Regions from separate parts of the Homo sapiens genome. Here all the other regions are linked to region 2. Evidence: promoter capture Hi-C in 16 types of primary human blood cells and fetal thymus (Javierre and others, 2016). All regions are on one chromosome and are shown on one strand. The core of a region is centred on a gene start or on the middle of the fragment in contact, and the rest is flanking DNA. Distances in the headings are between cores, read along the strand shown. Region 1 has its middle 15 kb from the start of IL21R. Region 2 holds the start of KDM8 (lysine demethylase 8). Region 3 overlaps IL4R (interleukin 4 receptor). Region 4 overlaps IL21R (interleukin 21 receptor).

Region 1 (2,700 bases), core at 201-2,700, 180 kb before region 2:
CAAGAAATAACCAGGTATGCTGTGTGTATAAAGTACTGACTAGGTTGAAATAAATCATGAAGAGAGGGTTGGATGAATAATTTATAAAACATCTGTGAAACAGAATACTCTGTAGCTATGCCATGTGAGGACATAACAAGAAGGTGGCTGTCTGCAAGCTAGAAAGGTTGTTCAGAAGACAACCATCAACCACCTTGACTTAGACTACCAGCCTCCAGAAGTGTGGGAAAATAAACTGTTGCCTAAGCCACACAGTCTATGGTATTTTGCTATGGCAGCCTGAGCTGACTAAAACAGATGTATCTGTATTAGTCAGTGTTCTCCGGAGAAACAGAACTGTAACCAACACAATTATTAATAACAATAATACAAAATTGTTTACAGTTGTAAGGGACTTGCCATCTGCAATAAGCTATCAAAACCACCTTTTATTTTAATTTTGTATTTTTGAGACAGGGTCTCACTCTGTCGCCCAAACTGGAATGCAATGGTGTGATCATGGTGTGATCACTGCAGCTTAAACCTCTCAAACTCAAGCCATTCTCCCTCTTCACTCTCCCGAGTAGCTGGGACCACAGGTGTGCACCACCGCGCCTGGTTAAGTTTTAAAAAGCTTTTTGTAGGAATGAAGTCTCATTATATTGCCAGGGCTGGTCTCAAACTCCTGGGTTCAAGTGGTCCTCCTGCCTCAGCCTCCTAAAGTGTTGGGATTACAAGCGTGAGCTGCTGTGCCCAGCCCCAAACTACCTTTTAATATCCCCATTTTAGACATAAGAAAACAGGTGCAGGAGACTAAGCAACTGGTCCACAGGCACATAGCCAGTAAGTGGCGGGGTCAAGATTTGAACCTGGGCCGTCTAGCCTCAAGGGTTAATAGGCCCATTTCTGGGTGGTGGGAATTTTTATTTTTAATTTTTTATGTTATTCTGTATTATCTGATTTTTAAAATGATATCTTACTTCTGGAATCTGGGAAAAATAACCAAGCTATTTCCATTTTGAAGAGAAAAAAAAAAGGACATCACAAAACATCAGTATGGTGGGAAAAGGGTGCAGAGAAGGGAAGGTATAAAAAAATCTATAGAGATGTGAGCCATGGTCCCCCTGAAGCATGTGACGTCCTTTACTTCAAGCCAGATATTCAATTACATGTATATGAAGATTAGAACCACAGAACCAACATGTCACATGGAAAATGCTTGCGAGATTTTCCCAAAGTCAAGAGTGTGTCACAGCCAAGGGGAACCTGAAGCACCCTAGGGTTGCATTAATAGAGGTATGGTGTCCAGAACAAGGGAGGCTATTCTCACTGCACTGGCCACACCTTCAGTCTACGTCCAGTTCTGGACCTTCATTTTTAAAGAACATTGGCAAATTGATGTATATTCAGAACAGGCAACCGAGAAGGTAGAGCAGCTGGTGTGGAGACAGTAAAAAAAACCATGAGACAGCAGAAGTATTTGGAAAGAGAAGACTCAGGGTGGGGGTCATGAGCAGGTCCAGACCAGCATAGTCAGAGTTGATGAACTGGAGAAGACAGTGAGCTCCCTGTCCCTGGTATGTAAACAACTCCTCACTGTGGGGGTATGGTTGGATTAACTGAGTGTGTGGTTGGACCAAGGGCAATGAAGTCTCCTTTCATGCTGAGTGTCTGTGTGTCTCTGATTCTTAGAAAGACATAGGAGGGCTTACCATGGAGGGAGATAATTATGGACCGAATGTGCTGCTTTCAACCTCTGCCAAATTCATATGCTGAAGGCTTAACCCACAATGTGGCTGTATTTGGAGATGAGGCCGCTAAGGAAGTAATTAAGGTGAAATGAGCTCAGAAGGGTGGGACCCTGATCTGATAATGTTAGTGCCCTTATAAGAAGAGACACCAGGGAGTTTGCCCTCAATCTCCCTCACAGCAAGAAGGCAGCTGTCTGCCAGCCAGGAAGAGAGCCTTCATCAGGCATGGATTCAGCTGCCTTTCTTTTCTGACTGCAGAGCTGGGGAGATGGGAGTTTACCAAAGTTTTCCAGATGCTGCACAGAGAATTCAGGTGGTGCACTGAAAATGTGCCTACCAGAGACTGGCACAAATGCGCGAAGGAATTTCCTTTGCATTCTGATCCCTAATGTTATTCCTGGACCAACTTGTTGATCATGGACTTTCCAGCCTCCAGAACTGTGAGAAATAAACGTCTGTTGTGCAAACCACCCATCCATTGTGTTATAGCATCCTGAGCAGCTAAGACAGAGGGTTACAGCAACCACTGAGCTGATTGGGCACCTCTGCAAGCTTTCTCTTAGGGGACCCTGGGGCTGAGCCCCAGCCTCCAAGTTCAGGGGTGGGGGTGCGGTGGGGTGAGCTGATTACAGTCTTAGGGCAGAGGAGGAATTGCCCATCTTCTCCCTCCCCTGCCACCTCCAAAATTTTCACAGTTAACAAAACAGATCTTCTTTTCACTGTCAAAGGTTTTAAATTCAATGGGAAGGCGGATACACAGGTCTAAAAGCAAAGCACTTGAGTTAGTGGCATGTACTAAGTATAAGAGGTACTGCCGGGCATGGTGGCTCACGCCTGTAATCCCAGCACTTTGGAAGGCCGAGGCCTTAAGCTCTTAAACACTTAAGAGCTAATTCCCTTATGGAATGAGAAGTCTAGAGACAAATGATTGCTTAGGCCGAGACCTAAGATCAGGAATTTGAGACCATCC
Region 2 (2,700 bases), core at 84-2,583:
GACGGGGTTGCGCCATGTTGGTCAGGCTGGTCTTGTGAACTCCTGACCTGAAGTGATCGGCCTGTCTCGGCCTCCCAAAGGGCTGGGATTACAGGTGTGAGGCACCGCGCCCAGCCTTAAATTATTTTTAAACATCAACTCCTCTAAAGCACCTCCCTGAGTATTCTTTAAGGTGGCTGGGTGGAATGGCCTCTCCGAGAGCCTCACTGTGATTTGCAGAGGGTCTCAGGGTGGGCACTCTGCAAGCACCATGCTGGTCATGAGAAAGCCTCCCAAAAGGGGCTTCCAGGACAGATCAGCCTACACCTAGCTTTCTGGGAACAGGCGGTCCAGTTCTCTAATCTCCTCAATGTTATTATGGCAGTATTCCACAAAAATTGTGCAAAAACAAGAGCTTCGTAAAACTTCCCAGGAAAGTTTGGAACATTTTCCAGAAAGCTTTAATTCATGGCACAGGGATCCCTTTGGCTCTCTAAGGGGCACACAGTCTTGTGTTTGGGTCGTCCGTGTGGCCCCAACGCCTGCGCACCTCCTGTCCCCGGGCTTGCTCCCGAGTCCTCCTGAGCACGGCGATTCCTACCGTTGCCGGGAAACGCACCGATGCCCATCGTTAAGTCCTACCGAGCTACAAGCACCTTTCCTTAGGGCAGTCACACACCCAGGCCCCAGAGGGTCCCCCGTACCCCGCACTGGCCTTGAGCCCCGAGGCCTCAGACCCCCTTCCCTCCTCAGCGCCTTCCCCGGGGCTGCATTTCTCGCGGCTCATATTTGGGACCTGACGGCGGAATCGTTTCCAGCCTGCCTTGCGGCCCAGGGGCAGCGGCTGGTTGCCTAAAAGCAGCGGACACACATATAGCAGAGTATAAAACCCGCGCAGGCGCACTAGGCCTACACCAACGCGACGCCAAGAACCGCTAAAGCGCACAGCAGCCCGCCGTAAGGGCCTGCCCTCACGCATGCGCAAAACCACTGCCAAGAGACGAGCATACGCACGCGCGGAACCTTTCCCTTTATCCTCCCGCAGGGCAGGCCGGCGACGAGCTAAATTGCATTCTCAGAGCGCATGCGGCAACTCGAGCCACCCTCGGGGTTTTCCAAGGCGCACGCGCGAGGCCGGGCTTGGCTGCTTCACATGACGCCTGCGCGGTCTATGCCTCTGAACCCGGCCTCTCCACTTCTGAGGAACTGGAGCTGACTCCGCTCTCGAGTTGCTCAGACTAACCTCTCTTCAGCTGGGACGGTGTCGAGTCGCCTTTGGGCTGGCGAAGACTCGTTGCGTTTGGTCCGACCACTCGGCTGTGTCCCCTGAGGAGCCAGAGGCTAGCATAGGAGTATCGATCGCTCACCGCTCGTCTGATCACGACGCAGTGCCTGGAGGAGCGCCGAGTGATCGATGCCGTGGCCCCGCCCCACTGCTGTTTAAAAGGCCGGGGGATGGAGAAGACAGAAAGGCTTGGCTGTATCCTCTGGGTCCTTCCACGCTAGTGATACCGCTTTTTCCTCTGCACAGATAACAACTTCGTACAAGGCTGTTTGCATCCACCATTTAATCTCTGCAGCTAGGATTATTAGTTCTCCCTATTTTACAGAGAGCGAAACTGAGGCTCAGTGATTAAAGTGGCCACATACTTGTACTTTTGGAAAGTCAGATCCACAATTACCCACGAGCAAGTGCTGCATCCACAGTCTGTTCGAGTGAGAAGGCAAGTGGCCAGGGGACACACTCCTGCCACCTTTGCTTTGATGCCGAGTGGTGCGTGGTCACTGGGACTTTTGTGTTTTGAGCACACACTCCTGTGGACTCCAAGTATGCACGCCTTTTGCAGCATTGCACAGAGGCATGGAAAGTTATGTTCGTACTGAGCTTGGGGTCTGAGTAGGAAACAGGCTTGCTCAGGATCAGTTCATAGATTAGTGGATTCTAGGTACGGTGCTAAAATACTTTAAAAATATGAGGATCGTAGCTATTGTAATGATCATGCTCATCCCCATTTTAGGGAGTGTATTAGTCCGCTTTCATGCTGCTGATAAAGACATACCCGAGACTGGGCAATTTACAAACAAAAAGGTTTAATGGATTCACAGTTCCACATGGCTGGGGAGGCCTCAAAATCATGGTGGAAGGTGAAAGGCACGTTTTACATGGTGGAAGACGAGATAATGAGAACCAAGTGAAAAGGGAAACCGCTTATAAAACCATCAGATCTCATGAGTCATATTCACTACCAGGAGAACAGTATGAGGGGAACCTCCCCTATCATTCAGTTATCTCCTACTGGGCCCTTCCGCAACACGGAATTATGGGAGCTACAATTCAAGATGAGATTTGGGTGGGGACACAGCCAAACCATATCAGGGAGGGAGCAAGTAAAGCACAGAAAGATCTCCTAACCCACCAGGCTCACTGGGATGCTGGTGTTTGAACTCAGCAGCCACAGGTTTAGAATCCTCATGGTTATGTGCTACACTAAGTTTCCACCCTTGAGTAGTGACAATGTTGAATTTTCCCTGAGTCTTGTGTCCCCGGAAAAAAGTAAAAAGGAATTGCTCTCACCCTTTTGTGTTGTGGAAAAAAGTTTACTGCAAAGAATCACCCCCCACCCCCACAAGAGAATTTAGATAAGACTCCAAGACACCACCCCCATTGTTTACCTGTGAGAGCAGGTAAACAGGACACAGACCCTCCAATTCTCATTCATT
Region 3 (2,749 bases), core at 220-2,719, 140 kb before region 2:
TCCACTGGCCAGGTGCGGTGGCTCACACCTGTAATCCCAGCACTTTGGGAGGCCAAGGCGAGTGGATCATCTGAGGTCAGGAGTTTGAGACCAGCCTGGCCAACGCAGTGAAACCCCATCTCTACTAAATATACAAAAATTAGCTGGGCACGGTGGCAGGTGCCTGTAGTCCCGGCTGCTCAGGAGGCTGAGGCAGGAGAATCGCTAGAACCCAGGAGGCGGAGGTTGCAGTGAGCCAAGATCACGCCACTGTGTTCCACCCTGGGTGACAGAGTGAGACTCTGTCTCAAAACAAACAACAACAAAAACTCCACCAACACTACTGTGAAGGGAATGTCAGGACCAGCTTCCATGGGGAACAACCAACAAACTGATCTTGTTTTCTTGGGAAAGTCTAAGCCTGGGGTGTGGCCTCTGCTCTCTTCATTAAGAGGAATTAGTAAACGAGTCAGCTGTATGGGGACTTCCTCCTTAACCCGTTGGCCTCAAAAGGGAACTGACACGGGTCACTGTCTCTTGAGTCAGTATTATTCTCTTCAATAATAGGGTTATTCAAGTGAGCTGTCAATGTGCCACCTACGATCACTTGTGTCCCCCAAACTGGGAAACACAGATGTGGCCCACAGCCCTACCTTTACAGAGGAGGAGCGGCATGCAGAGATAACTCCCCTTCTCTGATGTGAGGGGTGGGGGGCCAGGAAGCAAAGGGACTTGCCTAGTGCAGAGCCAGGTGAGAAGCCAGGTCTCTAGCTCCTGGGATTTGCTATCCAGCCCCAGGGCTTGCCTCCCAGGCTCCTGGCTCCAGGGACTGGGCCTCTGCTGGTCACCCACCCTGTTCCCCAGAGGTCACAGAAAAACGTCAAAGCATGCCCACTCACATCTGCCGGGTCGTTTTCACTCCAAATGTTGACTGCATAGGTGAGATGATTATACAGGTAATTGTCAGGGGGATACGGGTTGCTCCAGGTCAGCAGCAGAGTGTCGGAGACATTGGTGTGAACTGTCAGGTTTCCTGGGGCCCTGGGTTTCACTGCGGGAGAAGCGGCCTCTATGTGAGGATCTATGCAGTGACTCCCCCATCACCCAGCCCAGCCCCGGCCTACAAACCACAGCCACCACCCAGATTTTTGGTCGACAAAACCTCCATAGCATACTTCTGGAGCACCACACAGATTCAGAGCCATAGCAAAGAAGATTATAATAACAATAATGTTGCTAAAATTCTACATAGAACTTTAGTGTTTATTAATTACCCTTTTTTTCTTCTTTTTTGAGACAGGGTCCCACTCTGTTGCCCAGGCTGGAGTGCAGTGGCACAATCCCAGCTCACTGCAGCCTCAATAGCCCAGGGCTCAAGTGATCTGCCTGCGCTGGGCTCCCAAAGTGCTGGGATTCCAGGCATGAGCCACCGCGCCTGGTCTTTACTAACCACCTTTCTACAGTGAAGGCAAAGTGTATGAGCCAAAGTAACCCAAACTTCAGCCTTTTAAAAAATCTTTTTATTTTTATTTATTTTTATTTTTTTGAGACGTAATCTCACTCTGTCGCCCAGGCTGGAGGGCAGTAGCATGATCTAAGCTCACTGCAACCTCCTTCTCCTGGGTTCAAGCCATTCTCCTACCTCAGCCTCCCAAGTAGCTGGGATTACAGGCGCCTGCCACCATGCCAGACTAATTTTTTGTATTTTTAGTAGAGACGGGGTTTTACCATGTTGTCCAGGCTGGTCTCGAACTCCTGACCTCCGGTGATCCGCTGGGCTCGGCCTCCCAAAGTGCTGGGATTATAGGCATGAACCACCACACCCGGCCTCAAACTTCAGCTTTTACAGCTGCATCCTTCACACCTTTGGCCACATCTCTGTACTTTATGATGATTTACTGAGTATTTTTCTTTATTTTGATTCATCTGTTTTAAAACTTGGTCTCCTTTGAAGCAATCATATCCATGAGACCTCAGGTTTTTATTCCTGTGATGCATGTCATATCATGCATCACTGGAATACAACGCATGTTTTAAACTCCTGTCACCACAGCCCAGCAAGCTCAAGGGGGATTCCTGCAGGGACTCCGGGTACCAGAAGAAGGTCAGCCTTCCACGGTCAAGACCATCCAAAGCCGCAGCAGCTGACCAGTGGACACAGAATGGAAGGAATGTTCCCAGTTCGGTTTTCAATCAGCAGCAGGCATGCCTTCCAGCAAGCACACCTCATCTCAATACGCCTTCCTGGGCACTTAAGTTCAGGGGTGGAAACAGCTGGGCTGAAGGGGGCTTGGTGGTCTACTGCGACCAGCTCCGTTTCAAAGGTGGGAGGACTGAGGCCCAGGCAGGGGCAGGAATCCCATCAGATTTGGGAAAATACAGGCGGCTTCCTCCTGCTGTTGCTATGACCCCACCTCCTCCCCTGCCCACCCCACCCTCAGCCCAGGCAGCTGTGGGAACACACCCAGCCACCCCTGCCGCACTCCGCCCTGCTCACCATGCTCGCTGGGCTTGAAGGAGCCCTTCCACAGCAGCTGCTGCCCAGCCCACAGGTCCAGTGTATAGTTATCCGCACTGACCACGTCATCCATGAGCAGGTGGCACACGCACCCCGCGCCTCCGTTGTTCTCAGGGATACACGTGTGGGCTCTGCAGACACAGGGGCTGGGTTAGGCTGGTCACCTGTAGGCTGGCTGGGCCCCACAGCTGTGTCCGGGACATGCCTCCAGGAACCGCATCAGACTCTTCCAGCTTCCCGATCACGGATGTG
Region 4 (2,700 bases), core at 195-2,694, 200 kb before region 2:
CCCAGAAACTCCCCCCAGACCCACCTCAGGCAACATCTTCTGCTTCCAGAGTGTGAATAATCATGACTAATGTCATCAGATTAGTAACAAGGAACTTTCAGAGAAGGACAGTGGGCTGCCCAGGGTCACACAGCAAGTTCTCATCTCAGTGGGTTCTCAGGCTGGGGAAGAACTAGCCCAGTGGCCCTGGGTCAGAAAGCAGACTCTGCCATTCACTCACAGTGGGAACTTGGCCGTATCTCTGCCTTTCTTTGAGCCTCAGCTTTCCTCATCTGTGGAATGGGGGCAGCAGGCTTAGCCTGGATGCGGAGTGTGAGGCAGGTTAGTGTGGTTAGTATTAGGTGTGTGGTTAGTGTTAGTTGCTTTTCATCTTTTTTTTTTTCGCCAGTGGCAAGGGGTGGGTTATGGGTGTCTGAAGGCAGGTATGTTGGGGACCTCAGGCTTACAGTTAATCAGTAGAAGACGAAGGTGAGAGGAAGGGCCTTCTCCTCCCCAGCTCGTGCAACCTCTGAGGCTGTGCGACCTCTCAGCCTATCTCTCTCTCCTAGCCAGGCAGCAAATCTCTATTAGCTCCAGCAATCTTTCCCTCCTGGCACTTCTTCCAGCCTGTGCAACCTCTCCTAGCTGTGGAGCATGAGGTCCCAGTCCCAGCACCCGCACCCCCCACTCCCCACCCCCGCTGCCTGTGCAATCTCTATCTCCCTGCAAGCCCTGCCATCCTCTGCAGCCTTGCCCAAACCTTGCAATCTCTCAGCCTCTGCAGCCAGATCTCACTCCAGCTCCATTTCCTCCAGCCCAGGAGGGGCCGCTTGTAGAGCAGTGAAAGGAGGCTTTGAACTATGCCACGAGATGGAGCGGAGCTGGCCACCCACCGTCTCTCTCCCCTCAGTTCCCAGCAGCCCCCATCAGCCCGCCCTGGCCCTGGCCAAAGTGGACTGGTGTTACTGATTCATTCTGGGGAAAGTTGGCAAGCCCTCGTCCTAGTCAAGCCCGCTTGGCAGATGGGGAAAGGAGGCCCAGAGAGGCCCAGGGCCTTGTCCTGTTCACACAGTGGGGGATGGCAGGGGCCTGGGCTAGGACCCGGGCTGGTGCACTTGCCCCAACTCCCCGGGGACAATTCAGGGCAGGGGTCGGGGTGGCCAGATCCTTCCTGTGGGCTGCAGAGATCAGCAGGCTGGGTTCCTGATGCAGATGTCCTGGGCAGTCGGGGGCCCTCCTTGTGGCCCCTGCCCCCCAGCCTGGGGAATATTCTCAGGTCGTTTCAGAAGTTCCAAGTTTACTCAGAGGTCTCATTTGAGCTGTCATGAAAAGTCCCTTTGGCCTGGGGCCAGGGCAGGGAGTGGGGGCGGTGGCACCTGTGAGCCAGGGGTGGGGGTGGGTTCCTCCCATTGCCCCCTCTCCCTCCCCTTCACGTGTCCGGGGGCTCCGGAGGGCAGGGAAGGAGGGCATGTGAGGAAGGGGCTGCGAGGGCAAGAAGACCCTCTTCCTGGAGGAAGCATCTGTTCCCCTCTTTTCACTGCTCCCTTCTAGACGGTTCCCTGAGTGACCCTAGAAAAACCCCCACCCTGCTCTGAACTTCAGTTTCCCCATCTGTAAAAGGGGGGAAGCAGAATCATCATAAGAGCTCTTATTTACTGAGGTCTCATATATGCCAATATGACCAATAATATTTATTATTTTTTTTCTGTATTTTCATAGCTAAAAGCAAAGAGCTCTTACATATTTAAAGTAAAACATAGGCCGGTCACGGTGGCTCATGTCTATAATCCCAGCACTTTGGGAGACTGAGACAGGCAGATCACTTGAGCCCAGGAGTTCAAGACCAGCCTGGCCAACATGGTGAAACCCCGCCTCCACTAAAAATACAAAAATTAGCCAGGTGTGGTGGCAGGTGCCTGTAGTCCCAGCTACTCGGGAGGCTGAGGCAGGAGAATCGCTTGAACCTGGGAGATGAAGGTTGCAGTGAGTTGAGATTGCGCCACCGCACTCCAGCCTGGGCAACAGAGCAAGACTCTGTCTCAAAAAAAAATTAAAAAAAAAAAAAAGTAAAACATGATAGCGGGCACTTCTCATGAGCCATCTGTGCCCAGCTCTTTTGCCTTCCCCATCACACTGGCTCTCTCTGTGTACCCCAGAGCTTCAGGACCTAGGGAGGTGCCTGGGCCATGGTAGATGTTCCATGAAGAATAGGTTGAGTAAATCCTCACCACAGACCTAAGACAGGCATTCTTATTCCTATTTCCACTCTTACAGATGCAGCAACTGAGCTGCAGAAAGGTTAGGTGGCTTCCTCAAGGTCACACAGGTACTAAGCGGTGGACTTGAACCCAGGTCTGGCCAGTTCCACAGCTCAAAGTCACAAGGGGTGGTGTGCTGGGAAGCCAGTTCCAGTTCCCCCATCTAACCGCAGGCACCCCTTCCTAGTTGTGTGGAGAAGGCCCCTGTGCCTGCCTGTGAGGATGCTGAAGGCGCTAGCTTCCCTCTCTGGCTGTGGAAGGAACGGATACCCCGTTCCTTTCATTCATTTATTTATCAGGCACCTGGGTTGTCCTGATGCTACAAAGAGGTGGGTTCCTCCCAGAACTTCTGGTGGCTGGCTTTCTCTTGAATGGGCCTCCTCCTCTGGTATCCACCCCCTACTCTACTGCCCACAAGCCCCTTACTGGCTCTAATCCCCACCTCCCAGTTTCTTCTCCTAGC

Evidence for each region. The method cuts DNA at HindIII sites, captures the fragments that hold promoters and counts their contacts. A CHiCAGO score of 5 or more calls a contact.
Region 1: a contact is called between a fragment that was not itself captured here and the fragment with the promoter of KDM8 in region 2, in 2 of 17 cell types (monocytes and neutrophils). The highest score is 6.4, in monocytes.
Region 3: a fragment that was not itself captured here is called in contact with the fragment with the promoter of KDM8 in region 2 in 5 of 17 cell types (neutrophils, activated CD4 T cells, naive CD4 T cells and 2 more); the score reaches 8.7 in neutrophils.
Region 4: a fragment that was not itself captured here is called in contact with the fragment with the promoter of KDM8 in region 2 in 9 of 17 cell types (fetal thymus, naive CD4 T cells, non-activated CD4 T cells and 6 more); the score reaches 11.9 in fetal thymus.

The regions. Positions count from the first base shown.
Region 1 is chr16:27,385,487-27,388,186 of GRCh38, reverse strand. No RefSeq gene overlaps it. Among named protein-coding and RNA genes, the nearest start is that of IL21R, 15 kb to the left of the region's middle. The HindIII fragment of the contact is 1,669 bases long and covers 616-2,284 here.
Region 2 is chr16:27,202,159-27,204,858 of GRCh38, reverse strand. It overlaps KDM8 (lysine demethylase 8), which reads right to left and starts at 1,333. Exons shown (of 8, transcript NM_024773.3): 1 at 1,223-1,333. RefSeq lists an enhancer at 1,129-1,288. The HindIII fragment of the contact is 9,655 bases long and covers 441-2,700 here.
Region 3 is chr16:27,344,748-27,347,496 of GRCh38, reverse strand. It overlaps IL4R (interleukin 4 receptor), which reads right to left. Exons shown (of 11, transcript NM_000418.4): 5 at 2,477-2,628; 6 at 879-1,030. Among named protein-coding and RNA genes, the nearest start is that of IL4R, 32 kb to the right of the region's middle. The HindIII fragment of the contact is 9,331 bases long and covers 1-2,749 here.
Region 4 is chr16:27,404,371-27,407,070 of GRCh38, reverse strand. All of the region lies in intron 1 of IL21R (interleukin 21 receptor), which reads right to left. Among named protein-coding and RNA genes, the nearest start is that of IL21R, 3.5 kb to the right of the region's middle. RefSeq lists enhancers at 431-1,019, 796-1,245, 1,020-1,608. The HindIII fragment of the contact is 3,807 bases long and covers 1-2,700 here.